2 separate regions of the Homo sapiens genome follow, and region 2 is linked to region 1. Evidence: promoter capture Hi-C in human tissues and cell types (Jung and others, 2019). All regions are on one chromosome and are shown on one strand. The core of a region is centred on a gene start or on the middle of the fragment in contact, and the rest is flanking DNA. Distances in the headings are between cores, read along the strand shown. Region 1 holds the start of SLC26A2 (solute carrier family 26 member 2). Region 2 overlaps AFAP1L1 (actin filament associated protein 1 like 1).

Region 1 (6,923 bases), core at 1,981-4,480:
GAAAATATCAAGCAGCCTTTGCCCTTGGGGCCTTTGCTCATTGCCCAACCTCAAATGACACCTTATATAAATCGGTCCCTTCCTAGATACAATATATAAAACAGAGGCCAGGCACAGTGGTTCATGTCTGTAATCCCAGCGCTTTGAGAGGCCAAGGCAGGAAGATCACTTTGAGGCCAGGAGTTCGAGACCAGCCTGGGTAACATAGCAAGATCTTGTCTCCACAAAAAAAAAAAAAAAAAAAAAAAAGTTAAACAAATATGCAAAATAGCAGGCCGGGTGCAGGGGCTCATGCCTGTAATCCTAGCACTTTGGGGGGCCAAGGCAGGTGGATCACCTGAGGCCAGGAGTTCGAGACCAGCCTGGCCAACATGGTGAAACCCCCTCTCTACTAAAAAATACAAAAAATTAGGCCAGGCGCGGTGGCTCACGCTTGTAATCCCAGTACTTTGGGAGGCGGAGGCAGGCGGATCACGAGGTCATGAAATTGAGACCATCCTGGCCAACATGGTGAAACCCCGTCTCTACTAAAAATAAAAAGATTAGCCGGACGTGGTGGCACATGCCTGTGGTCCCAGCTACTCAGGAGGCTGAGGCAGGAGAATCACCTGAACCTGGGAGGCAGAGGTTGCAGTGAGCCAAGATCACGCCACTGCACTCCGGCCTGGAGACAAAGTGAGACTCTGTCTCAAAAAAAGAAAAAAAAAAAAATTAGCCAGGCGTGGTGGCATGTGCCTGTAATCCCAGCTACTTGGGAGGCTGACAAAGGAGAATCACTTGAACCCAGGAGGCAGAGATTGCAGTGAGCCAAGATGGCGCCACCGCACTCCAGCCTGGGCAACAAGAGTGAAACTCCATCTCAAAAAATAAATAAATAAATAAATAAATAAATAAATAAATAAATATAGCACCACTGCCATTGCTGCCATTTCCATGTCTTCCTCCTGGGCCCAGCCCTGCCTTGCACTCCTATGCCCTTTATTTTTCTCCATAGCTCTTCTCACCATTCCATACCACACATTGTTAATTGTCTTTCACATGAGGGCACTGACTTGCTCTGTTTTGTTCAAAGCTGTATTCTCAGTGTCTTGAACATGTCTTGCACCTAATAAATGCTTAGCAAGTATCTGTTGAGTGAATTAGAATTTAACAGCTATATGATAAGGAAAAAGGAGTTACTTTCCCCATTCTCACTTAACTCTCCAACCCCACTCTTCCGCCCCCACATGCCAAAACCAAGCTTATGTCAAGAAATTAAGCTTGGCAAGCATCTGCCTGGGGGTTTACATTCACTAAAAGCGTGATTATCCTTCTGTCAATCATGGGGGAAAATAAAAAATAAAAGTGTGGGCAGGGCACAGTGGCTCATGCCTGTAATCCCAGCACTTTGGAAGGCCAAGGCAGGAGGATTGCTTGAGCTCAGGAGTTTGAAACCTGACTGGGCAACATGGTGAAACACCATCTCTACAAAAACTACAAAAACTAGCCAGGTATGGCAGCGTGCACCTGTGGTTCCAGCTACTCAGGAAGCTGAGGTGGAAGGTTTGCTTGAACCCACGAGGTCAATGCTGCAGTGAGCCTAGATCGCGCCCCTGCACTCCTAGCCCGGATGACAGAGTAAGACCTGGTCTCAAAAAAAAAAAAAGTCAAATCAGAAATTAAAAAAAAGTGATTTTTTTCCCTCAAAAATTACCCCTAGCCCAGAGTATGTTCACCTCTAGATCTTCCCCTAGGAGGCAGCACATTACAGTACAATAATTGTCAAATACAGAGAGCCGTTAGCTTCTTAGGACCATCCCTGCAAATCCAAGGATGAGATCCAGGACTCCACACGCTAGATGATGCTGAACGAGTGAGCTTAGGACCACACTTGGAGAATCACTGGATGTGTTCTGGAAGTCAAACAGATCTCTGTTCAGATCCCAGCTATACTGCTCAGCAGTCATATGGCAATGGTTTTGTAAAACTTCACTGTACTCAGCATCAATTTCTGACCTGTAAAATGGGGTAACATTACCTAACTTGCTGGTTTGTAAGGCTAACACAACTACCTACCACAGTGCCTGGCACATAGCATTTACTCAATAAACGACAGCTATTAGTCTCTGTCCCTTGCTATATCCTGCCTTGAGATTCCTGATTTTAAAGGGTCCATTCCTTTCCCACAGCTTTGGCCCTCCATTTCTTATTGATTCAATTTTCAAAAACAAAAAGTTCTGCTTAATCTAGTATTGCATATCACATTAGTTGTAGATTTCACATAAAGAACTGTTGGGGACAAGGAGAAAAGACAGGTTAACTAGAATGGGCGCCGGAAGGCAATTTAAGTTCTGAATGTTTCTAACTCACTGTGATCCCCAATCTGTGCAAGGAAGGAGCCCAGGCTGATAGTCTATGAGTTTGGAGAGCTGGGTACAAGTCCTAGCTCTGCAAAAGACTTGCTGTGTATTTTTAGGCAAGGCTCTGGGCCCTCTCTGTCTTCTCAGTGTTTCCATCCATCCAGTGAAATAATACCAACTTAGTGTGTGAGTCCGAAAGAACAGGTCCTGATTTTGTACTTAATCGGGTGTGTGATTTTTAATAACCAAGATAACCAAGCCGTCTCGCCTGTGCCGGCCTCAGTTTCCCCATCTGTCCGAGGTGGTGGTGGCTCCTATCTCCTCGATCCCTATTCCAGATATCTAGGTTCGAGACGGATCAACGAGGACTGGAAAAGCAGCGGAGTGCGTGGCACCCGGCGAGATACGGCGAGATACGCGGGATGGAGGGCGGGTGGGCAGCCGCCAGCCAGACGGGCAGGCCCGGATCACCAGGGTGCAGTGCCACTCGCCCGGCCCCGGACCACCCGGGAAATAACCTGACGCACGCCCCGCTCCACGGCGGCGACCCCTGATCTGGGATTCTACCGCGCGGGGACCCAGGCAGAATGACTCTGGGAGGGGCCCGCTGACCGCTTGGCGGCCAGCACCGCTCCCTCCCTCTTCCCTGGTCCGCTTCCCTCTTCTCACCTCTCGGGTCCGGGCCGCTGCAGGCAACCAGGCGCCGCGGCACGCGTCTTCCACCGTGGCCTGACTGAGGTGGACACCGCGGCGCCGACAGAGCTATACCTGCCTGTCCCTTTCCCCGCCCATCGCTCGGACTCCGAAGGAGGCGGGGCCCGGCTGCCGGGACCTACGGGCGCGGCGAGGACGCACCGGCGAAGAGATGCCGGAGGCAGAGCCAGTGTAAACGCCCGCGGCCGAGGCCGTCACGTGGTACTGCCGGGCGAGCGACGCTACCACCAGCCAATAACTCGGCCCAGACCGGGGAGGGTGCCGCCCTCTGACTACTCTCCTCCTCGCGATTGGCTGCCCTGGACAGAAGAGCACAAGCTGGAAGGATTCTTAGAGAGGTTCCGCCGCTGCTTCCGTGGCGTTGACTCCTCCGCGGAGAGAGCGGATGACCGGCCTCGGCGGCTAGCCTGTGGCCAGGGTGAAATAGCAGGAGAGGCGCGGAAGCGCTCTGCCCAGAGTTTTGAAGTGCTCAGCGTTTGCGATCGGCCACCTCTTTATCCAGTACTACTTGGGACCCCGTTCCCTCCCACCCGCCTTTGTAGAACGGGAAATTGAGGCCCCGAACGGGAAAAGAGCTCCTAGAATGTTAGAGGCTCTTGCCTCACTATAACTCATTCCCCATCAAAGATTCCAGTAACCGGAAGGCTAAAATGTAAATTAAAAGGCCGGGCGCAGCGGCTCACGCTTGTAATCCCAGCACTTTGGGGGACCGAGTAGGGAGGATCGCTTGAACCCAGGGGTTCGAGATCAACCTGGGCAGTATAGCCGAACCTTGTCTCTATAAAACATAAAATGTAAATTAAAATGTAATTGTAGTTTTTGTTAAAATCCTTAGTGGGTTTAATGGCATTTGTAGGTAAAATCAAACCCTCCCTATGCCAAGGTACTGTGTGCTTCGGGCACTCATCTCTGCCCCCCTCCCTCGCTGATCTCCACCCATACTGGCCCCCTTTGCTCGCCACGCTTGTTCTCTTTAGGGACCTAAACATTGGTTCTGGCCATCAGATTTCTTCTGGTCTCTCAGGTCTCAGCCAAAACACCAGCCCTCTCCATGGCGAGGCCGTCCCTGACCACCCTGTGTAAACTAGCCACAGCCAGTCACATCCTTTCAGGTCATCTTGATTTAATTATCTGCCTCGAACTGGCCACTATTGAGTATGTATTAATTTGTTCATTCCTCACCTTGTTTGTAGCTTGCATGTGCCCACTAGATGGGGGTGAAGGAGGGCCTGTGAAGGAAGCATGATTAACTTCCTTTCCTTCCCTTTCCGGTGAACGTCTTCACAGTCATTCAAGGAACTCCCTTTCTTATCTAGAGATGATCCCCAAGTTTCTGTCACCCATCAGATTCAGAGTTTCCAAAACGTCATAAGCTGTCTTGGGAATCAGAACACAAACACTTGGGTTCTACTCCTGATGCTGCCCCTTGTGGCTGAAGACAAATCATTTCACCTCAATGGGCATCAATGTTTTCACCTTTCAAAGGGTAGTTAATGCCCTAGCACCCAGAGTCCTGGAGAGGGTCAGGTAAGGCAATCAGTGTAAAGTACTTTGTTTAAGCCCTAAAGACTGCACAACAAGCAGAATAAACAGTTTCTGGATGTTTATCACGTGCCTGCGCAGAACTCTTCACATTCATTACATGAGTTAATCCTCACAACAGCTTTAGAGGAGGTGCCATATTATGATTCTTCTTTTTTTTGGTGAGGAAATGAGGCTCAGAGATGTTAGGTGATCTGCCCAACGTCCCACAGTTAATAAGTGACAGTAGCATGATTTTAACACAGTCACGTCTGACTGCAAAGCCCACTCTTAACCACTACACTCACTGTGCTATGCAAATGCAAGAATCCACTCCAATCCTTGCAGCTGACATTTATTCATTTATTTGTTTGTTTTCTTGTCTGTGTGGGGAAGCCAGGACCTTGCATATAACAGGCACCAATAAAGATTGGCCAAATTTGGCCGGGCATGGTGGTTCATGCCTATAAGCCACTTGAGCTCAGGAGTTAGAGACCAGCCTGGACAACATGGTGAAACTCCAACTCTACCAAAAATAGAAAAAAGTAGCCAGGCATGGTAGCATGTGCCTGTAGTCCCAGCTACTCAGGAGGCTGGGGTGGGAGGACAGCTTGAGCCCAGTAGACAGAGGTTGCAGTGAGCCGAGATCGTGCCACTGCACTCCGGCCTGGGTGACAGAGTGAGACCCCATCTCAAAAATAAAAACAAAAGCAAAAATAAAAAACCAGACCAGTCAAATTTAATACTGCCTATCATTCTTTGATTTTATTTCATACATATTCATCTGCATCACAGACGAAGAAATTGGGGCTCAGAATAGTATTACTTACCAAGTTTATTCAGCTAACAAGCAGTAGATTTTGAGATGGGATGGAGGTGGATTTTGACCTGGGAGCTGTGACATGCCAGCACCCAAGAACATGCAAGCTATGGCCCGGGGCCAGGAGAAGGTGCTAGTAAAGAAGCTTTAGGTTGGCCATTGGTGCCTCTCTGCCTCCTAGTTCAGCATCCCTGGCTGCTGTTTACTGTTGTGGTCCCTCGCTGATCTCCACACACACATCCCAAGGAGCTCCATGGAGCCAGACTTTGGTCTGCCATGCTACTTTCCCTTCACCGATGTTCCAGTGCTCCACAACAGGAATCAAAGGCAGCGGGTGGAGGGGTGGGGTGGGGGGTGGGGGTGAATAACTAAATCCCTGCTACTGGAAAGCTGGCCAATAATTAGCTTTTCCTCGATGACATCACATCAGCAGCACTTGGATCTCTTTACGCCTCCTAGCCTGGGCATTTTTTCCCTCCTGTTGGTCTCAGGGTTCACAGAGGTGACTGGCAGCCGGAGGGCCACATTTTATAGCCATTACTCTTCCCAAACAGCTTTTCCAAAGCGTAACTAATGATGTATGCACTGGAGGCATGGTGGGCCAGCAAATAAGTCCTTTCAGGTTGGGGCCACTTCAGGATTTACCTCCTCAGCATTCCTGACCACCCATTCTTCCCAGGTGGGACTAGTCACTTCCTCTGAGGCCCCACTGGACCTTGAACTCCCACTGGATTCCCACTATTGAATGAACTATTCCTAGTGTGCTATTCAGGCTTCATTTTCACTGCTATAAGTGTCTTTTTTTTTTTTTTTTTTTTTTTTTTTAAGAGACAGGGTCTTGCTCTGTCACCCAGGCTGGAGTGCAGTGGCGCAATTATAGATCCCTCTAACCTCGAACTGCTGGACTCAAGTGATCCTCCCACCTTAGCCTCCTGAGTGTCTAGAACCACAGCCGAACGCCACCACACCCAGCTAATTTTTTATTTTTTTGTAGAAATGGGGGTCTCCCTATGTTGCCCAGCCTGATCTCAAACTCCTGGCCTCAAACTCCTGGCCTGAAGTGATCCTCCTACCTTGGCCTCCCAAAGTATTGGGATTACAGGCATGAGACACCATGCCTGGGCCATTTTACTTTTTTGCAAAACATTTTGTAAAATGTTAGCTTGATTGTTCTTGGAAATAGGTAACACAAAGTAAACAAATTAAAAAGGTCAAGGGTTTACAGTAAAAAGTAAATCTTCCTCATAGCCTATTCTTACCCTGGTGTACCTTTCTAGAGGCAAACACAGCACCCATTTTCCTGTGTTGCTTTCCAGGTTTATTCTATACCAGCAGTTCTCAGTTCTGCACAAGGTCAGGAGTTCGTGACCAGCCTGGCCAACATGGTGAAACGCTGTCTTTACTAAAAATACAAAAAATTAGCCGGGTGTGGCAGTGGGTGCCTGTAATCTCAGCTACTCAGGAAGCTGAGGCAAGAGAATCACTTGAACCCAGGAGGTGGAGGTTGCAGTGAGCCGAGACTGCAACAT
Region 2 (6,923 bases), core at 2,725-5,224, 640 kb after region 1:
TTCTTTTATTGTTGAGGAAACTGAGGCACACAGAGGTTAGGTCCCACTGCTAATGGTGGCAGAGCCGAGGTTAAACCCATGTCTCCATGTCTCTCTGACTCCAGGGTCCATGCTGTGCAATACTGCTCTAGCTGGGCCAAGGCCATAGTTCAACCTCTTAGGGAAAGTTTTACTTTTTTTTTTGTGCGCTATACAGAGGCGCACACAGCTTTATATAAGTCGGTGCAGAATAATTCCTGCAGTTTATGGATAATTGGGGGTCTTGTCTAGCCAGCTGCTGCAGGGATTGCAGTGGTCACCCAGTGACCCATGCAAAAATCTGTTCCTGACACAACTACCTGCAGTTCAAGCCTGATCATAAATACAGCATGGAGGGCCTTCTGGCTTTCATTGTTACTGATGAGAAGTCAGCTGTTAATGTTACTGGGGTTCTCTTATACATGATGACCTGATTTTCTCTTCTGCCTTCAAGATTTTTTCCTTGTCTTTGGTATTAGCATTTTTACCATGATGTCTCTTTTGTAGATCTCCTTGCCTTTATCTTACTTGGATTTCACTGAGCTTCGTGGATGTATAGATTAATGTTTTTCAATAAATTTGGCAAGTTTCAGCCATTATTTGAATATTTTTTATGCTCATCTGTCTGTCTCTCTCTCTCTTCTCCTTCTAGTACTCCCTCTACACATATGTTTGTGCACTTAATGGTGTTCCACAATCCTCTGAGGCTCTGTCATTTTTCTTCATTCTTTTTTTCTCTTTGTTCTTGGTTTGCATAATCTCTATTTTTCTGTCATCAAGTTCACTGATTCTTCTACCAGGCCAAATTTACTGTTGTGCCCATTGAGTGAGTTTTTCGTTTCAGTTATTGTACTTTTCAGCCTCATGATTTTTATTTGGTTCTTCTTTTTATAATTTCTATCTTTCTATTGGAGGCCCCATCAATATATTATCAATAATATATTCCATATGACTATACTATATAGTATAGTATAATATAGTAAGCATATAGCTATATTCCATATAACTGTAGTGTAGTTCCATATACGTATACTGTAGTGTACAGTCTAGTGTAGTGTAGTACTCAGTATAGTCTATTTCCTCCTGCAGTATGAAGCCAATTTCTCTAGAACAATGAGAAATACATTTCTGTTGTTTATAAGTTACCCAGCTTATGGAAGTTTGTTATAGCAGGAGGAATGAGCTATTATCAATAATATATTGATAGAGACTACCAATAATATAGGCTATCAATAATACAGACTATCTGTTAATACACTGTCATCTTCTGTTCCTTTATTTCTTTAAGCATGGTTTCCTTAAGTTCTTTAAATATATTTATAATGGCTGCTTTGAAATCTTTGTTAAATTCTACATTTGGGCCCTCTCTCAGGCAGTTTCTGTTGCTTGATTTTTTTCCTTCTGTATGGGTCACATTTTCCTGCTTCTTCATGTGTGTCATAAATTTTTGTTGAAAACTGGTCATTTTCGAGAATATATTGTAGTATCTTTTGATATGCATCCCCCCAACCGGGTTGTTGGGTTGTTATTTTCTTATTTGTTTAGTGACTTGTCTGAACTATTTTATTGTAGTCTACTTCCTCTTGAAGTATGAAGCCACTGATGTTGCTCCTCAGAGGCCATAGCCTTGGCATGTGTACAGTCACTCTGGGGTGACAGCGTATTAGCAGGGATTTCTGACTCTTTTCCTAATCTCCTGTTAAGCAGTCGGCCTCTGTTGCTATTACACCCAGCTCTACTAATTGTCAGGTGTTTGCTCTATTGATTTTGACAATGCATCAATTACTCCACAGCCTGATCCAATTAAATTCAGCCCCTTTACAGGATAGTTCTGGAGGCCCATCTTTGAGATTTGTTCTAACCCTAGGAGGGCTCTTTTTATTTTAAAAAATTTCTTTTTAAATATATATATATTTTTCTTTCTTTTTTTTTTTTTTTTTATTTTTGGCGACAGGGTCTCACTCTGTCGCCCAGGCTGGAGTGCAGTGGCACCATCAGGGCTCACTGCAACCTCTGCCTCTTGGGTTCAAGCGATTCTTGTGCCTCAGCCTCCCGAGTAGCTGGGATTACAGGTGCCCGCCACCATGCCTGGCTAATTTTTGTATTTTTAGTAAAGACAGGCTTTTGCCATGTTGGCTAGGCTTGTCTTGAACTCCTGGCCTCAAGTGATCCACCTGCCTCAGCCTCCCAAAGTGTTGGGATGACAAGGGTGAGCCATCACGCCCGGCTGAGGGCAATTTTAGCTGTCTCTTTCTGTGGTTCTCTCTGATAAACTAGCCTGTGGTTTAGTTTATTGTTCTCATAACCACCAAATCTCCATTGTTTTTGAGAGCACCCTTTGGTTTACACTTTCCCACACTCTGTTCCAACTAAAGTCAGTTCTTTCGAGGAAGAGCTTTGGAGTTCTCTGTTCTTATGGCCTGCCTTTCCCCACTCGGCAAAATCTCTGAGTCACTGCTCTGGATCCAGGGGTGGGAACAATGGCCTGTGCTGTGGTTTGAATGTTCGTACCCTCCAAAACTCATAATGAAATTTAACTGCAATTGTAACAGTATGAAAAGATGGGACTTTGAGAGGTGATTTAGGCCATGAGGGCTTTGCCTTCATGGATGGGATTAATGCCATTAAAAGAGAGCAAATTCAACCCCCTTTTGCCTCTTTGCCCTTCCATTTTCTGCCATGTGATGATGCAGCAAGAAGGCCCTTGCTAGATGTCAACACCTTGATCTTGGATTTTCCAGCCTCCAGACTAGGAGCTAATAATTTCTGTTCATTATAAATTACTCAGTCTCTGTTATTCTGTTATAGCAGCACAAAACAAATTAAGAGCCTGTTTCTCTTGGAGTGACATTCCTGTTATGAGCAGGGTGCTGGGTGGGGGCAGTAACCTCTGGTCTACTCTGCTTGCCTCTCCCAGCATGGAACCTCTGCCTTACAAGTGAGCTAGGATGAGGGCAATCAGGGCCCCAGTATTCTTGGCTTACCCTACCTGGGGCAAAGCCTTTGCTCTATCATCTGGGTAGAGGAAGGGAGCTTCCTACCTCTTGGCTGCAATCACCTAGAATTTAGCCTCTACAGCATGGAGCTGGGTATGACAAAAAATACTGGCAGCCTGCCCTTCCTGGGGAGATACTGTAGCCCTTGACTGGCAGCTGGGGGAAGAAGGAGCCCTGTTTTCTTGTCCAGACATGCCTGGAGTGAAGATTCTTTCAAACTGAGTTGGGGAATAAAGGGGTAGGTTGTGGCTCAAATGCCACAAACTCTCACTGTTCTTACTAAGATTTAGCAAATTTTCTAGAGTAAATGTTTCTTCATTTGCCCTTAGGAAAATTTCCAGACTTTAAGTAATTGTTTGTTTTAATAAATTTCACCAGCTACTGCTGTTTTGCTAGGGAGTGGGTCCATGCAGCTTCTCACGCCACCATTTTTCTCAGCAATCATCTACTTGGCCTCCATGATTCTTGCTTCCTGATATTCATGCCCTTTTATAGTCCCCTCCCACACTAAACAGTGCTGACCTGTGTAACCATTAGGATATTGGAGAATGACAGAGTGTAACTTCTAACCATAGGTCATAAAAGACCTTGCAGCATCAGCCTTGCTGTTCCTTCTTGGGTTGCTTGCTCTGGGGGAAGCCAGCTGTCACATCACAAGGATAAGCAACTCTATGAAGAAATCCCCATGGCAAAGAACTGAGGCCTCCTTCCAACAACCAGCACAAACTTGCCAGGCATGCAGTGAGCCATCTTAGAAGTGGATCCTTCAGCCTGTCAAGCCTTTAGGTGACTTCAGATGACCGGCCAACGTCTTGAGATCTCATGAGAGACCCCAAGCCAGAACTATCTATCCAAGCCATTTGGAGATTCTTGACCCACAGAAACCGTGTGACATAACACATGTTCCTGCTTATTGTTTAGAGGAGCTAAATTTTGGGTAATTTCTTATGTAGCAATAGGCAATTAATACATGATCGTGGGCAAAATCCTTTGGCTATAGACTAGATGTTTACATCCCCCAAAATTCATATGTTGAAACCTAATCCCCTTCGAGATGGCACTTGGAGGTGGGGCCTTTGGTAGGTGATTAGGTCACGAGGGTGGAGCCCTCATGGGTAGGATTAGTGCCCTTAGGAAAGAGACCCCAGGGAGCAAAAAGATGGTCATCACCAGGAAACAGGCCCTCACCAGACACCAAATTGGCTGCCACCTTGATCTCAGACTTCCCAGCCTCCAGAACAATGAGAAATAAATTTCTGTTATTTATAAGTTCCCCAGCTTATGGGATTTTGTTATAGCAGGAGAAATGGACTAAGATATCTTCCCTTTTATTTTCTTCAGTTTCTTCATCTAAAAAACAACCTTGTTGGAATTCATCAGTAGTTTTCCACTGTGGTTTCCCACTGCCCTTCAAGGAAGCTTATGACCCCACAGTGATGGCTAACAGGAAAAGTGGAGGCCAAGTGGGCCTCAACCAGAGTAGCTCCACTTTTATTTTTCTTTTATAAACTGGGCTTTCATATAAGATTTGATTTGAAGAAAGGGTCTGCTTTTTTGTGTGTGTTTGTTAGTTTTTTGTTGTTGTCGTTGACATTCGGTGATTTCTTTAATCTTACATGCTTTTTTCAGTTTAGATTTCCATTTTAAAATGGGCATTTCACAAGGCCCTGCATTTCCAGTGCCTCTGAGAGTAGAGTGCAAAGTTACACAACAACCTTCTGATTGTTCAGAGAGGAAACTCAGGCCCAGAGAGGGGAAAGGACTTTTCCCAGAGGTACACAGTAATTCAGTAGTCAAGGGAGGAATGAGGAATGGAATACAGATTTCCTGACCCTCAGAAGGGATGATCTATACAAATGAAATGGAGCTATAATACAGAAAAGTATTTTTTAAAAATAGGTATTAAAAAATAAAAGTAGATTTTCAAAAAGCACAGAACAGAACTTGACTCTGTTGAGATGCAGGGGGAAGAAATGTAAAGGAACAAAGAAAAAACTTTTGGAACATGCTGTCCCACAGGAAGCTGGCTTGTTCATAAAGATAAATCACACAGAAGCACAGATTACTGTTGGAAGTAAAAGAGAATTTACAACAGAGTTGCCTGGTGTACTTAGTCATTATTGTGCAGTGTGGTAATCAGGCAATTCACTGAGCTCCTGGGGGGTGCTAGGCAGAGCTAGGGTGGGACACCAAGGTGAGCTGTGGCTTTCATGGGAGCTGGCTCCAGGGTATTTGGATAGGTTCAGTTCTCCACTTACTACCCCAGTTCAGAAATCACAAATTGTTAGCCTCTGAAACAGATACAGCTTGTCATCAATCTCTCTCTCTCTATTTGGCCTCATTTGGTGCTAAATTAAAAAAAAATAGTTGCTGATATTAAAAAATAAGTAGACTTCACCTAAATTCTAGATTTCTGGCCTCTTTTAAGTAATTGGCAAATCTGGTGTTAGGGGCCTGGTACTGCTGCATAGGGATCATCTGCTGGAGCTGAGCAGCAGCCTCCCCTATAGTTGGGACCTGAGAAAACTGGGTACCGGTTTCCTACAGTACCTCCCCACCCCCCAACTCCCTGTCATTTTCCCTCTGAGGCCACATGCTAGCTGCCCTTTATCATTGTGCTTGCTCTGTGATTTTTCTTACGGTAGAGTATTTTCTTGCATCTCACTTTGCTCATTTATTTACCCACCAGGGAAACTGATTTTGAGATCCCTCCTATAGACTGCTTCCTTTCCTTCCTCCCTAGTCAGCAGGGGAGGCCCACACACAACTCACTGGAGGCGTGGCGTTTGACTTTGACCTGCGGGTCCACACGATGGGACTTCTCACTGCAGGAGGAGGCGTGACGCTTCACCTGGGCCCCTGTGGGGCGCTCGGGCTCCTCGTCCTGGTGGGAGATGGAGGAAGACAGTCAAGTTCAGGCAGGCGCAGACTCATCAATGCAGGGTGTATTGCGGTCTTTGCTCAGTATGGAGTCTTCTTGCTCTGAGATCTTGGTCTTACATTTTTAGACTTGCATAGCACTCAAAAATCATAAAGCACTTTTGCTAGCAGTATATCATTTGAACCTCATACCTTTCTGCTGGGGGGCAGCAGAAGGCAACCCTAAACTGCAGCACCTGCTGAGAGGAAAATTAGAAAGTCTCAAAAGACTGTGGGTGGCTATATTTGATTTATCATCGATACTTTTGTCTTTAGAACATTTGGAAGTATCCTGATTTTCTGAATTGCCTCAAAAAGAAAACAGTCTTCCCTCAAGAAGAAAAGTCCTGGATGAGATGAGCCAGTGATAGAAGTGACATAACTTAATAGATTAACTATACATTTGTGCATGAAGAATATTAAGAATACTAAAAATCCAGTGAAAGCTTAGGAAACCATGAGTTAAATATGATAATAATGTAATATAATAATGATGTTGTCAACAACAGTACTATCTACTTCTCTGTATAGGACCTTCCAATGTCTAGGCACTGTCCTAATTTCTTTTTTTGAGTGCAGCGGTGTGATGATGGCTGACTGCAGCCTCAACCTCCTGGACTCAAGTGATCCTCCCACCTCAGCCTCCCGAGTAGTTGGGACAACAGATGTGCATCACCATGCCCAGCTAATTTTTGTAGAGACAGGGTTTTGCCATGTTGGCCAGGCTGGTCTCAAACTCCTGGGCTTAAGTGATCCACCCACCTCAGCTTCCTATAAGTGCTAGGATTATAGGTGTGAGCCACTGCGCCCAGCCTAAACGTTGTTTTTTTTTTTTTTTTTTTTTTTTTGAGACAGAGTCTCGCTCTGTTGCCCAGGCTGGAGTTCAGTGGCATAATCTTGGCTCACTTCCACCTCCTTGGTTCAAGCGATCCTCCTGCCTCAGCCTCTCGAGTAGCTAGGACCATAGGCACATGCCACTGTGCCTGGCTA

The links. Contacts are between HindIII fragments. The study calls those that stand out against the background at their distance.
Region 2: a fragment that was not itself captured here is called in contact with the fragment with the promoter of SLC26A2 in region 1 in 1 of the 25 tissues and cell types used here (IMR-90 fibroblasts).

What each region holds. Positions count from the first base shown.
Region 1 is chr5:149,957,065-149,963,987 of GRCh38, reverse strand. It overlaps SLC26A2 (solute carrier family 26 member 2), which reads right to left and starts at 3,230. Exons shown (of 3, transcript NM_000112.4): 1 at 3,009-3,230. RefSeq lists a silencer at 3,175-3,294 and enhancers at 4,335-4,414, 4,211-4,814. The HindIII fragment of the contact is 6,337 bases long and covers 585-6,921 here.
Region 2 is chr5:149,321,581-149,328,503 of GRCh38, reverse strand. AFAP1L1 (actin filament associated protein 1 like 1) reads right to left here. Exons shown (of 19, transcript NM_152406.4): 15 at 5,787-5,898. It overlaps LOC124901103 (a long non-coding RNA gene), which reads left to right. Exons shown (of 2, transcript XR_007058989.1): 2 at 3,590-4,283. Among named protein-coding and RNA genes, the nearest start is that of GRPEL2, 20 kb to the left of the region's middle. RefSeq lists enhancers at 5,338-5,863, 5,864-6,390. The HindIII fragment of the contact is 6,826 bases long and covers 562-6,923 here.